4 separate regions of the Homo sapiens genome follow, and regions 1, 2 and 3 are each linked to region 4. The links are contacts of gene promoters, found by promoter capture Hi-C in human tissues and cell types (Jung and others, 2019). All regions are on one chromosome and are shown on one strand. Each heading gives the region's core, a stretch centred on a gene start or on the middle of the fragment in contact. The rest is flanking DNA. Distances are from core to core; before and after follow the strand shown.

Region 1 (2,902 bases), core at 209-2,708, 150 kb before region 4:
TCACAGGCATGATCCACCTTATCCAGCCATACACCATCATCCTTTGATGGCTGCATGGTACTCCGTTGCATAGAAGTCTGTTTTATTTAACCATTCATTGTTCATTAAGTGGTAAACAGTATTACCATGAATGTCCATGTCCTCAGATTTTGCACACATTCTTGATTATTTCCTTAGGATAAATTCCTAAAACTGGAATTAAATGGTTTGGAAACTTGATACATACTGACAAATGTCTTTAAGTTTCTACTGATTAGCATTCCTGCTTGTAGCGTATACAGATATGCTTTTCTCCTTACATCCTTACCAAAACTTAGTGTTACTCTTTTTAACCTTCCGCTATGTCCTTTTAATATTTGAATTTCTGTAGCTAAAATATATGATACCAGGGAGAAATTTAAAACAAATAGAAATTGGTGGCCAGCAGGGTGGTTCACACCTGTAATCCTGGCACTGTGGGAGGCTGAGGTGAAAGGATAACTCGAGCCCAGGAGTTCAAGACCAGCCGGGGCAACACAGTGAGACCCCACCTCTACAAAAAAAATTTTTTTCAGAGGCTGGGCACAGTGGCTTATGTCTGTAATCCCAGCACTTTGGGAGGCCAAGGTGAATGGATCACCTGAGGTCAGGAGTTCGAGACCAGTCTGACCAACACGGAGAAACCCCGTCTGTACTAAAAATACAAAATTAGCTGGATGTGGTGGTGCAGGCCTCTAATCCCAGCTACTTGGGAGGTGGAGGTTGCAGTAAGCTGAGCTCATACCATTGCATTCCAGCCTGGGCAACAAGAGCAAAACTCCGTCTCAAAAAAAAAAAAAATTTTTTTTTTTCTTAAATTAGCCAGGCATGGTGACACATACCTGTAGTCCTAGCTGCTCGAGAGGCTGAGGCAAAAGGATCACTTGAGCCCAGGAGTTGGAGGTTGCAGTAAGCTGTCATTAGGCCACTGCACTCCAGCCTGGGCAACAGAGCAAGACCCTGTCTACTAAAAAAATTAAAGAGGCCTGGCACAGTGGCTCATGCTTGTAATCCCAGCACTTTGGGAGGCTGAGGCAAGTGGATCACTTGAGGCCAGGAGTTTGAGACCAGTCTGGCCAACGTGGTGAAACCTCGTCTCTACTAAAAATACAAAAATTAGTCGGGCATGGTGGCATGTGCCTGTAGTTCTAGCTTCTCAGGAGGCTAAGGCACAAGAATTCCTTGAACCTGGGAAGCAGAGGTTGCAGTGAGCCTAGATAGCGCCACTGCACTCCAGCCTGGGTGACAGAGCAAGACTGTCTCAAAAAAAATGAAAGAAATTGGTGTATACTCTACTTTCTATGGAGTATAATATGTTGGTTATACAAAGAGACAAATGATAGATTCCACTTATTTTCACCTCCATCACTCATATCCCCAGTTAAAGCTTTAACTTTTTTAAACTATTTTTCAGGCTTTGATCACTCAGACTCGAGCCAAACAGGCAGCTACCATGAGTGAAGTGGAGTGGAGAGGGAGAACGGTTCCAGTGAAGATTGACAAAGTGCGCATTTTCTTATTAGGACTGGCTGATAACGAAGCAGCTATTGTCCAGGTGAGGAGGAAGAACTTACTGTGCTGTCTTCTGTATGTGTCTGAAGGTTGTCCTGTGTGTTTAAGATGTAGTGGCTCGTTGGTATTCAGTTCTCATAAAACAAACTTTTAATGCTGTTTTGGATTTGGTAAGTACGGAGATGTGCCTTATTGAATAAAATTATTTTGAAAACTGAGTTTATAGAGGAATTCTTAATGTTTAGAGGGCAAAGAAATTGACAGCAACAGTCATCAACATAAAAATGGGAGGCATTAGAGGCTGGCTTAAAGTAAGGGGTCACATTTGGCCCAGCAGGTGGTGCAGCAGCTTAACTATTATGTCTCTGAAGTTTCTCTGACATGTTGTCGTAACCTCCTAGCCCTAAAGGGTTCACCTCTTAGTCCTGGGGCTTTGCAGGATAGCCTGGTTAAACCAGAATGTCTTGTTTTGTGTGCGGTGTACATGTAATATTCATGCAAAACTGTTATCACTTGATACTGCCTACTGACATAGTTACCTATTGGTGGGTACAAACAACCAAATGCGTCCTAAAAGATAAGACATCCTGGTGACCTTTGTATGACATAGACAGTGATGGGGGCACTTTTTAGAGCTTCTTTTCCACATGAGTTAAAGGACATCTTTAAAAAAACAGGCTGCTGACAGTCTACTGCCTCATCAGGGAACAGTGGCATTTCCGAAGACCTCACAGTTATCTTTTGCACCCTGAATAATTTGTGTATGGGTTGGTGGGGTGGTGTTTTGTTAATGTGTTGAGGAATTGGCTTAAGCATCTAAAATTTCAGCAACTTGCTCCAGAATGGCTACTATGGGTTGGAGGCAGCCTTCAACAGCTGAAGAGTTGATGTGTGTCCTTGTCTGTGTTTCGTATTGCCTGTCTCATATCCCTTTTATTTGCTTAAAGGACAGAAGACTAGAACAGTACTAGAAAGTTAATTTTTGCTTAAACTGAAAGGCTAAGGAACTTTTTTTGAGAGCATTCTATTGGCACTGTTGTATGGTGCTACCTCCACTGGACAACGGCTCTGGTAGCAACTATTCAGATTATGTGATTGGGTTAGTGCTTTGGTTTTAAAAGTGATCAATGCTGGAAGAAAGAAACTACTTCTGTCCTCAGTTCAGTGCCAGACAGCAGAGACAGTGGGGCAGGAATTCTGACTTGAAGAGGAGTTGGGGGAGAGAGATCCATAGGGGCAAGTTAAATGAGGGCTCTTTCAGAGTGGGGCTACAGACACGTACCAAATGAAGAACAGGAAAAGCTAGCATTTATTAAGTAATTTTGAAAAGTTACTGCTGGCACGGTGGCTCATGGCTATAATCCTAGTGCTT
Region 2 (2,700 bases), core at 187-2,686, 250 kb before region 4:
TCTAAGCTTGAAAGCAAGAACCATACATTTTACCACCTAAAAAGTTTAGCACTTCAGAGGTCTAAAAGGTAACCAAAATTAAAAGTTAGACAACAAATAGTGTTTTTTTAAAAACTATTTACAATGTGTGTATCAGAGGAAAAGCTAATGTCTTTGCCATAGTTCATATTGAATAAAACAGTAGATAAAAGGGCAAAGGGCATAAACAAAACACACTCAACATAGAATTTTTTAAAAAGTTCAACCACATTAAAAATCAATGATATGCAAATATGAGAATACCATTTTCCAACTTTCAAATTTTAAAAACTTTTCTTTTTAGCGATTCTCCCTGCTTTCGGGGAAGCAGTCAGAATAGGTCTTCTGTATTACTTATAGGAGTGTAACTAGAAAAGGCACTGAAAAAAAAAACAGCAGAAAACAGCAGTATATATCAAGGCCTTAAAAACATTTATACCTCATCATCTAAGAGCTAATAATTTAATAACAAGAACATAATTTGAAAAAAAGGCATTCAAGGATGTTCATCAAAACTTGTTTACAATAGGATGTGTTAGACACAACTAGATTCCCAGCACTAGGAGAATAGTTAGAAAACTTAGGGGATCTATGAGAAGGGGACATATATAAAGAGGCTTCAGAAACAAAGGAAAATATTTATGTTCTGGCCAGGCATGGTGGCTTACATCTGTAATCCTAGCACTTTGGGAGGCCATGGTGGGAGGATCAATTGAGACCAGGAGCTCAAGACCAGCCTGGGCAACATAGTGAGATCCCATCTCTATTTTTTTAAAGAGGAAAGTATAATAAAATAAGCAGAATATAAAATTGTTATTTACAGATTGATCAAAACTGTGTAAATAGTACACAGAAAAAAAATGGGAAGAAGAGACACCAGAATGCTAACAAAAGTAACTTTGGGTGATTTGATTACTGGTGATTTTTTTTCCTTACTTTTACTTTTATGTATTTTCCAAATTTCCATTATAATCAGAAAAAAAATAGAGATTATTAAGAAAAAGCTTACCAATAAGCAGGATCTACAGTGTGTGATTCTTTGATATTTTATCTCTGCCTCTAGTACAGTTGTTCTTACCAGACCCCCCCAAGAACAGATATAAAACATTTTTTTCAGTGTAGAGAAGTAGCATGATCACGTCATAAAACAAAAAGGACCTAATTAATTTTTCAACCTGTCTCTGATTCCCCTAGTCCTCAGAGAATATTCCACCAGGCTATGAAGTAGTATCTCTTCTGGAGGCCCTCAACGGGCCCCTCACCCCGTCCCCAGCAGTTCCTCCACTTCACGTGCTTGGAGATGGCCACCTCTCAGGAATGCTCCCTTCATATGGCAGTGATGGCCACCTGCCCCCCGTCAGGACGATCTCGCCTCTTGACCGCCTGTCTGACAGCAGCAGTCAGGGACTCAAACTCAAAAAGAGTCTCTCCAAGTGAGTAGCCAGTGCTCCACACTGTTGCCCCCGGAATCCTTGATGAAATGCTTCATCCCTCCTTGGTGCTGGCCCACATCCTGGGGACTTAGGGCAGAGTAACCCTCTGGGCTGTTCCCAGAGCTGCTTGCGTGAAGGTTATCCCATCCATTAAGAGATGAAAATAAGATGGTATGTAGGTACTTAAGAAAACTCTGATGAGACAAATCTCTTATGTATTCTTTTTTTCTTTCAAGGATAGGGGATGGGATATAGGGAAGAGGATGTTGAACACTGTGGATAGGGCCTTCTAGGCCCCTGGGAGCATTGCTTAGTCCGAAGACTGAAGGAACCTTGTGATCCGTATCTCTTAAACATCTAAATCCAGCTAGGCACAAATCATGACAAGGTTTCTGTGGCAGAGTAAAGGGGAGGGTATTTTACAGATGAAAATATTGAGACCCTGTAAATGGCAGTGGTTTTTCCCAAGTTTAGATAGCAAGTCATCAGAGGAGCTAAAAGTAAAACTTAGCGCTTCTGACACCCAAAAGAGGTCTCCATCCCTCTCTGGTTCTATTTCCCTAGTCCTACTTAAGATTTGGGTTTCGAGCCAGGCAAGTTAGCCCAGACCTACTCGGCTACTCAGGAGGCTGTACTCCTCCTCTGTTAAAGCGTCAACAAGAGGATCGCTGAAGCCCAGGAGTCCCAGCCCAGCCTGGGAAACATAATGAGATGCTGTCTCAAAAAATAAACAAGCAAAAAATATTTGGGTTTTCCCCTCAGCTCCCCTTGCAGTAAGTTCTGTTCTTTAAATGGACGTTGGATATAGCTGCTTTTCCACTGGACTCCTACAGATCCACTTCCCAAAACTCTTCCGTGCTGCATGAAGAGGAAGATGAGCATTCCTGCAGCGAGTCGGAGACACAGCTCTCTCAGAGACCGTCGGTTCAGCATCTCGGAGAGGTAATTGACATTCCTCTCCTCTTCTTGGGTGTTGTACTCCAGGGACTTCCCTCCTACCTGCATGCCTCATCAGGTCCCTCTGCTCTCATTCACTCATCAAACACCTTGTCAGCACCCTCTGAGGCAGTGGCAAAGGTTTCACTGGATTCATGCATTCAACAGTGTATGCAGCCTGTATTATTTGCCAGGCACTGTGCTATATGCTGAGGATAGTAGCTGGGACACTACAAAAGTCCCTGCCCTTGTAGCATTTATATTCTTGCTATCTGGGGTGGGGGGCACAAAAGACAATAGGTAAAAAAATACA
Region 3 (2,700 bases), core at 90-2,589, 230 kb after region 4:
GACATGGCATGTGCCTGTAATCCCAGCTACTCGGGAGGCTGAGGCAGGAGAATGGCTTGAATGCGGGAGGCAGAGGTTGCAGTGAGCTGAGATTGCGCCATTGCACTCCAGCTTGGGCAACAAGAGCGAAACTCCTACTCAAAAACAAAACAAAACAAAAAAACAACAAAAAACCAAAGTAGAAAGGAGAATGCCACCTAGTGGAGATGACAATTATGACAGTAATCTAATTGTTAAACAACACTTCTAACAAAGATCCACACTTGTAACATATTCTATTGTTAGAAACTTCCTATGTTCATGTGCACTGGGCCTGGTGGCTCACAGCTCTAATCCCAGCCCTTTGGGAAGCCAATGTGGGCAGATTACTTGAGCCCAGGAGTTCAAGACCAGCCGGGGCAATATGGCAAAACCTTTCCTCTACAAAAAAATTAAAAAAAATTGCTAGGTGTGATGCACACACCTGTAGTCCCAGCTGTTTGGGAGGCTGAGGTGGGAGGATTAATTGAGCCAGGGAGGTTGTGGCTGCAGTAAGTTATGATGGCACCACTGCACTCCAGGCGACAGAGGAGACTCCACCTCAAAAAAAAAAAAAAAAAAAAAAAAAAAACAAAAAACAAACAAAAAAACTTCATATGCTTAAAGCAGAATGTCCAAAATTAAGGGTTTTGAATATAAAAAATATTGTTACACATCAATTTAAAAAAATGTGGGCTGGGCACAGTGGCTTATGCCTGTAATCCCAGCACTTTGGGAGGCAGAGGCGGGCCTATCACTTGAGGCCATGAGTTCAAGACCAGCCTGGCCAACATGGTGAAACCCTGTCTCTATTAAAAATACAAAAAATTAGCTGGGCATGGTGGCTCACACCTGTAATCCCAGCTACTCGGGAAACTGAGACAGGAGAATCGCTTGAACCCAGGAGGCGGAGGTTGCACTGAGCCGAGATCACAGCACTGCACTCCAGCCTGAGCGACAGAGCAAGACTCTGTCTCAAAAAAATAAATAAAATAAATAAATAAAAATAAAATGTAAATGTGCCAGAAAGTTCTGGATTTGAGGTACATGTTGCTATGTGGAAGAGAGTCTGAGGCCAGCTCAAGCAGAAGGATGACAGGGCCAGGACTAAGATAAGAGTATCACAGAAGACTCATGCTGGGGATCATTTGTAGTCCTTGGAGATGCCACGAGGACTCCTAAAGGCCTGGCAGCCACTGGGGATTGCAGAACATTGAAGCTGGCAAGCTTTATCTAAACCCTTCTCCATCACCCTCCAAAAGAACTATATCAAGTGACTTTGAGGGTTGGATTTTGTGTTCTGATTTCTGAGGGCTCCTCAAGAGGAACAGAAATTATTCCATGAAAACTTTTCATTCCACAGTAAAACTTGAAATGCACATGAGTGAATGAGGAACAGCGAAGCACATCAGTCAAGGAGCAGGCAGGAATGACGAGGCTGTCAGCCGTGATGTAGGGCTGAGAAGGGGAGCCTGAGCACAAAAGGCATTTCCACAATCTTCCCAGCTTCACCTTTTTTGGGTCCCTCCCACCCCGCTCTTTAGTGACTGCTACTGGACAGCAGTAAAGTCTGTTTTGTTTTTCATGTGACCCCCACCCTGACTCACAAAGCCCTGTCATCTCCCAAGGATTTGTTGCCTGGATTACAGTATTTTAGAAGGGGTGACCGTTAAGTGTTATGTACCCTCCTCTCCAGCCAACTTCCCCAGGAAGCCTTCCAGCCCTAAGAAAAGGCTGCAACTGTACCCAGAAAGACTCTAGGACCCAGATCCTCCCTTCCCTCCACAACTGAAACCCAAACACTTAACGGCTCCCTGGGCTTGTTTTACGTGCAGGCTCCAAGTCCCACATACCCTAAATACTAGGCAGAGAAGATTATCACTACTGAGTGTTTTGTTCTGCAAGCCCGAGGAGAGCTGTGACTGACTTTGAACTATGGGGCCATGGGTCTGCCCATACCATCTTGCCAGTTCTCAGGCAGGGCGAGTTCTCAGGCCTGGGTTCCAGGTTTTTCACTCAGCATAGAAAGCAGGTTGCATTTACAGTTTTCAGGGGTTCTTTTTTTTCCCTCCTGCATGCTGGCGCCAAAACTTTCTTTCCTGGTAAAACACACTCTTATCTTTCTCACTCACAACGTCTCAAGATTTTAGTGGCTACATACAGTTCTATCCAATCACAGAATCAGCTCAAATATGGAACAGCTCACACTATATTTTCAAGAATATTACTGTTTTAGATTTTAATTGGGCATAAATTTCCTAAATTTTACTAGGTCATCTTGAAAGTTACAGCTGGTTTCCAAGCAGTTTTTTTTTGTTTTTTTTTTTGAGACAGATTCTCATTCTGTTGCCCAGGTTGGAGTGCATTGGCAGATCATGGCTCACTGCAACCTCTGCCTCCCAGGTTCAAGTAATTCCCCTGCCTCAGCTTCCCCAGTAGCTGGGATCACAGGTGTGCACCACCCACCAGTCTCACCAGTTAATTTTTGTATTTTTAGTAGAGACGGGGTTTCACCATACTGGCCAGGCTGGTCTTGAACTCCTGACCTCAAGTGATCCTCCCGCCTCAGCCTCCCAAAGTGCTGGGATTACAGGCGTGAGCTACTGCGGCTGGCCTCAAAGCAGTTTTTAACTGCAAAATGGGTCCTTATTCCCCGGGTCTAGAGTGATATAATTAAGTCTT
Region 4 (2,876 bases), core at 74-2,573:
TAGAACTGGATCACAAGGGCAAGCCTGAGTCCTGCCAGAAACATTCACATCTGCACTTAACCAGGTCACTTCTGCCTTTGTGTGGATAATGAGAAGTTGGAGATAGTTGAGCTAACACACAAACCACTGCGAGCGCTTTCCAGAGGGTAATCTTTTCATCCTGACAGCTGTCAGGTAAGCACTAGTGTTAACCTGCTTTTTCCCAAATGAGGAAACCACAAGGAAGACAGTAAGGTCACGATCTGGTTTTTTTTTGGGGGGGGGGAGGGGCATTTTGAGACGGTGTCTCACTCTGGCACCGAGGTGGTGGCGCAATCTCGTCTCACTGCAGCTTCTGCCTCCCGGGTTCAAGTTAATTCTTGTGCCATAGCCTCCTGAGTAGCTGGGATTACAGGCGCCTGCCACCACGCCCGGCTAATTTTTGTATCATTAGTAGAGATACAAAAATTTTTGTATCTTTAGGGTTTTGCCATGTTCGTAGGGCTGGTCTCAAACTAATTACCTCAGATGATCCGCCCACCTCGGCCTCCCAAAGTGCTGGGATTACAGGTATGAGCCACCGCGCCCAGCCACAATCTGGGTTTTTATTACTATTATTTTATTATTATTATTATTATTGAAATAGAGTTTTCACTTTTGTCGCCCATGCTGGAGTGCAGTGGCGCGATCTCGGCTCACTGCAGCCTCCGCCTCTGCCTCCCAGGTTCAAGCGAGTCTCCTCCCTCAGCCTCCCGAGTAGCTGGGATTACAGGCGTATGCCACGCCCGGCTAATTTTTGTATTTTGAGTAGAGACGGGTTTTCACCGTGTTGGCCAGGATGGTCTCGATCTCCTGACTTCGTGATCCACCCGCCTTGGCCTCCCAAAGTGCTGGGATTCCCGGCGTGAGCCACCGCGCCCAGCCCTCAATCTGGGTTTTAAACCCAAGCAGAGTCCGGAATCGGAGCTCGCACCCCTTCTCCCAACCAGGCCTGCGTCCCTGGGGAAATCAGGACGCAGCGTCCAGGGGTTGGAGGAGGGCCCCGGCGGCCGACCCCGGTCTGTGCCGCCCCCTGGTGGCCAGCCATGGGCGAGCATATGACTGCTCTCGGCTCCGCCCCGCCGTCCAACGGGCACTTCCGGAGCCGGGCGTCTACAGACCGCGGCCACCTTCCACCTGCGCCCGAGGCAGACGGTGCAGGGGCCTCCGGGACAGGCGTCTGAGGCCTGCTCCGCAGCGCGGGCCCGGGGGCGGGCCTAGGGGCGGGGCCTGCTGTGGTGCGCTCAGGCACCGCGCTGGCCACCTGTGCCCGGGTCCTAGTGGCGGCCGCAGTGTCGCAGGCCGGAGGGAAGATGGCGGCGCCCTGGTGGCGAGCCGCGCTGTGCGAGTGTCGGAGATGGCGGGGCTTCAGCACCTCGGGTGAGGGGTGGGCAGCTCTGCGGGGGGGGGGGGGGGGGCTGTCGCCCGAGCTGTGGGGCGCCGGCCTTACGTCTTCTCTCTGCCCGCAGCCGTCCTGGGCCGCCGGACACCCCCGCTGGGGCCGATGCCCAACAGTGACATCGACTTGAGCAACCTGGAGCGGCTGGAGAAGTACCGGAGCTTCGACCGCTACCGGCGCCGAGCAGAGCAGGAGGCGCAGGCCCCGCACTGGTGGCGGACCTACCGAGAGTATTTCGGGGAGAAGACAGGTGCGGGGCGACTGGAGCAGGGGCTGCAGCCACCGCCCGGGGAACTCGGGACCCGCCGGCGTTTTCCCCGGGCGCTGGGCGAGCCTTGCCGGCGCCCTTGTGGATGCTGGGGACGCTGGGAGGGCCTGCCTGCAGACCTGTGTGCGCTATCGGCAGCTTAATCACCCCAGGATTTTTCACACCTTCTGCACCTCATTCTTGGAAAATTCGCTCCCCCTACTATTAGAGTTCCAGCTCCTAAAATATTTGCTCCTAAAATCTTGACCACCTGACTTTCCGGATTGGGATGCCGTTCTGTGCGCCTCAAATACTCTGTAGGTAACTCTGGCCACACTGCATTCTGACTGTGCGCTGCCTCTCCCCAGATTGTAAGCGCCCTGTTGACAGGGATCCTGCTTGTCTTGCCCTCCATTGGATCCTTGCACCCGAACAGTGCAAGGATGTACATGTGCAATACTTTGCTGAATGAAATTAAAGGCCTGGGCAGGGTGACTCAAAAAAGAACCCAACCTGGCCGGGCGCGGTGGCTCACGCCTGTAATCCCAGCACTTTGGGAGGCCTAGGCGGGCGGATCACCTGAGGTCGGGAGTTCGAGACCAGCCTGACCAACATGGAGAAACCCCGTGTCTGCTAAAAATACAAAATTAACTGGGCGTGGTGTCGCATGCCTGTAATCCCAGCTACTCGGGAGGCCTCTGAGGCAGGAGAATCGCTTGAACCCAGGAGGCAGAGGTTGCGGTGAGCCGAGATCGCGCCATTGCACACCAGCCTGGGCAACAAGAGCGAAACTCCGTCTCAAAAAGAAAAAAAAAAAAAGACCCCAACCTTTAAGGAACTTACAATTTATGGAGTATATGCTTTTCTTTTCTTTTCTTTTCTTTAGCATTTATAGAGGCAGTTTTGTGGTGGTTAAAGGCACAAGCGTGGAATCTAAATAGCCCGATTTAAATCCTAGCTCAGCCTCTCGGATAATGTCCTTGAGCTTGTTTCAACTGTAAAATAAAATAATTGTGTCTTTGCTACAAAATTGCTGTGAGGATTAAAAGAGGCAATTCATTGGCATTTTTGCCTAATGCCATCTCTGATGAGGGCTCAGTATGTTTTCGTTATTATTATTTTGTTTTGTTTTGTTTTAAGGCAGAGGCTCGCTCTGTTGCCCAGGCTGGAGTGCAGTGGTGCGATGACTCACTGCAACCTCTGCCTCCTGGG

The links. Contacts are between HindIII fragments. The study calls those that stand out against the background at their distance.
Region 1: a contact is called between a fragment that was not itself captured here and the fragment with the promoter of MRPL38 in region 4, in 3 of the 25 tissues and cell types used here (dorsolateral prefrontal cortex, lymphoblastoid cells and spleen).
Region 2: a contact is called between a fragment that was not itself captured here and the fragment with the promoter of MRPL38 in region 4, in 1 of the 25 tissues and cell types used here (dorsolateral prefrontal cortex).
Region 3: a contact is called between a fragment that was not itself captured here and the fragment with the promoter of MRPL38 in region 4, in 3 of the 25 tissues and cell types used here (aorta, dorsolateral prefrontal cortex and heart right ventricle).

Annotation. Positions count from the first base shown.
Region 1 is chr17:76,056,074-76,058,975 of GRCh38, reverse strand. SRP68 (signal recognition particle 68) reads left to right here. Exons shown (of 16, transcript NM_014230.4): 8 at 1,433-1,573. Among named protein-coding and RNA genes, the nearest start is that of SRP68, 15 kb to the left of the region's middle. The HindIII fragment of the contact is 5,888 bases long and covers 1-2,902 here.
Region 2 is chr17:76,158,086-76,160,785 of GRCh38, reverse strand. RNF157 (ring finger protein 157) reads left to right here. Exons shown (of 19, transcript NM_052916.3): 12 at 1,213-1,451; 13 at 2,285-2,393. Among named protein-coding and RNA genes, the nearest start is that of FOXJ1, 18 kb to the right of the region's middle. The HindIII fragment of the contact is 3,147 bases long and covers 1-2,700 here.
Region 3 is chr17:75,672,608-75,675,307 of GRCh38, reverse strand. All of the region lies in intron 3 of SAP30BP (SAP30 binding protein), which reads right to left. Among named protein-coding and RNA genes, the nearest start is that of SAP30BP, 6.6 kb to the right of the region's middle. The HindIII fragment of the contact is 5,826 bases long and covers 1-2,700 here.
Region 4 is chr17:75,903,331-75,906,206 of GRCh38, reverse strand. It overlaps MRPL38 (mitochondrial ribosomal protein L38), which reads left to right and starts at 1,323. Exons shown (of 9, transcript NM_032478.4): 1 at 1,323-1,398; 2 at 1,488-1,667. The coding sequence starts at 1,332. RefSeq lists silencers at 918-1,397, 1,408-1,457, 1,478-1,527. The HindIII fragment of the contact is 5,940 bases long and covers 1-1,652 here.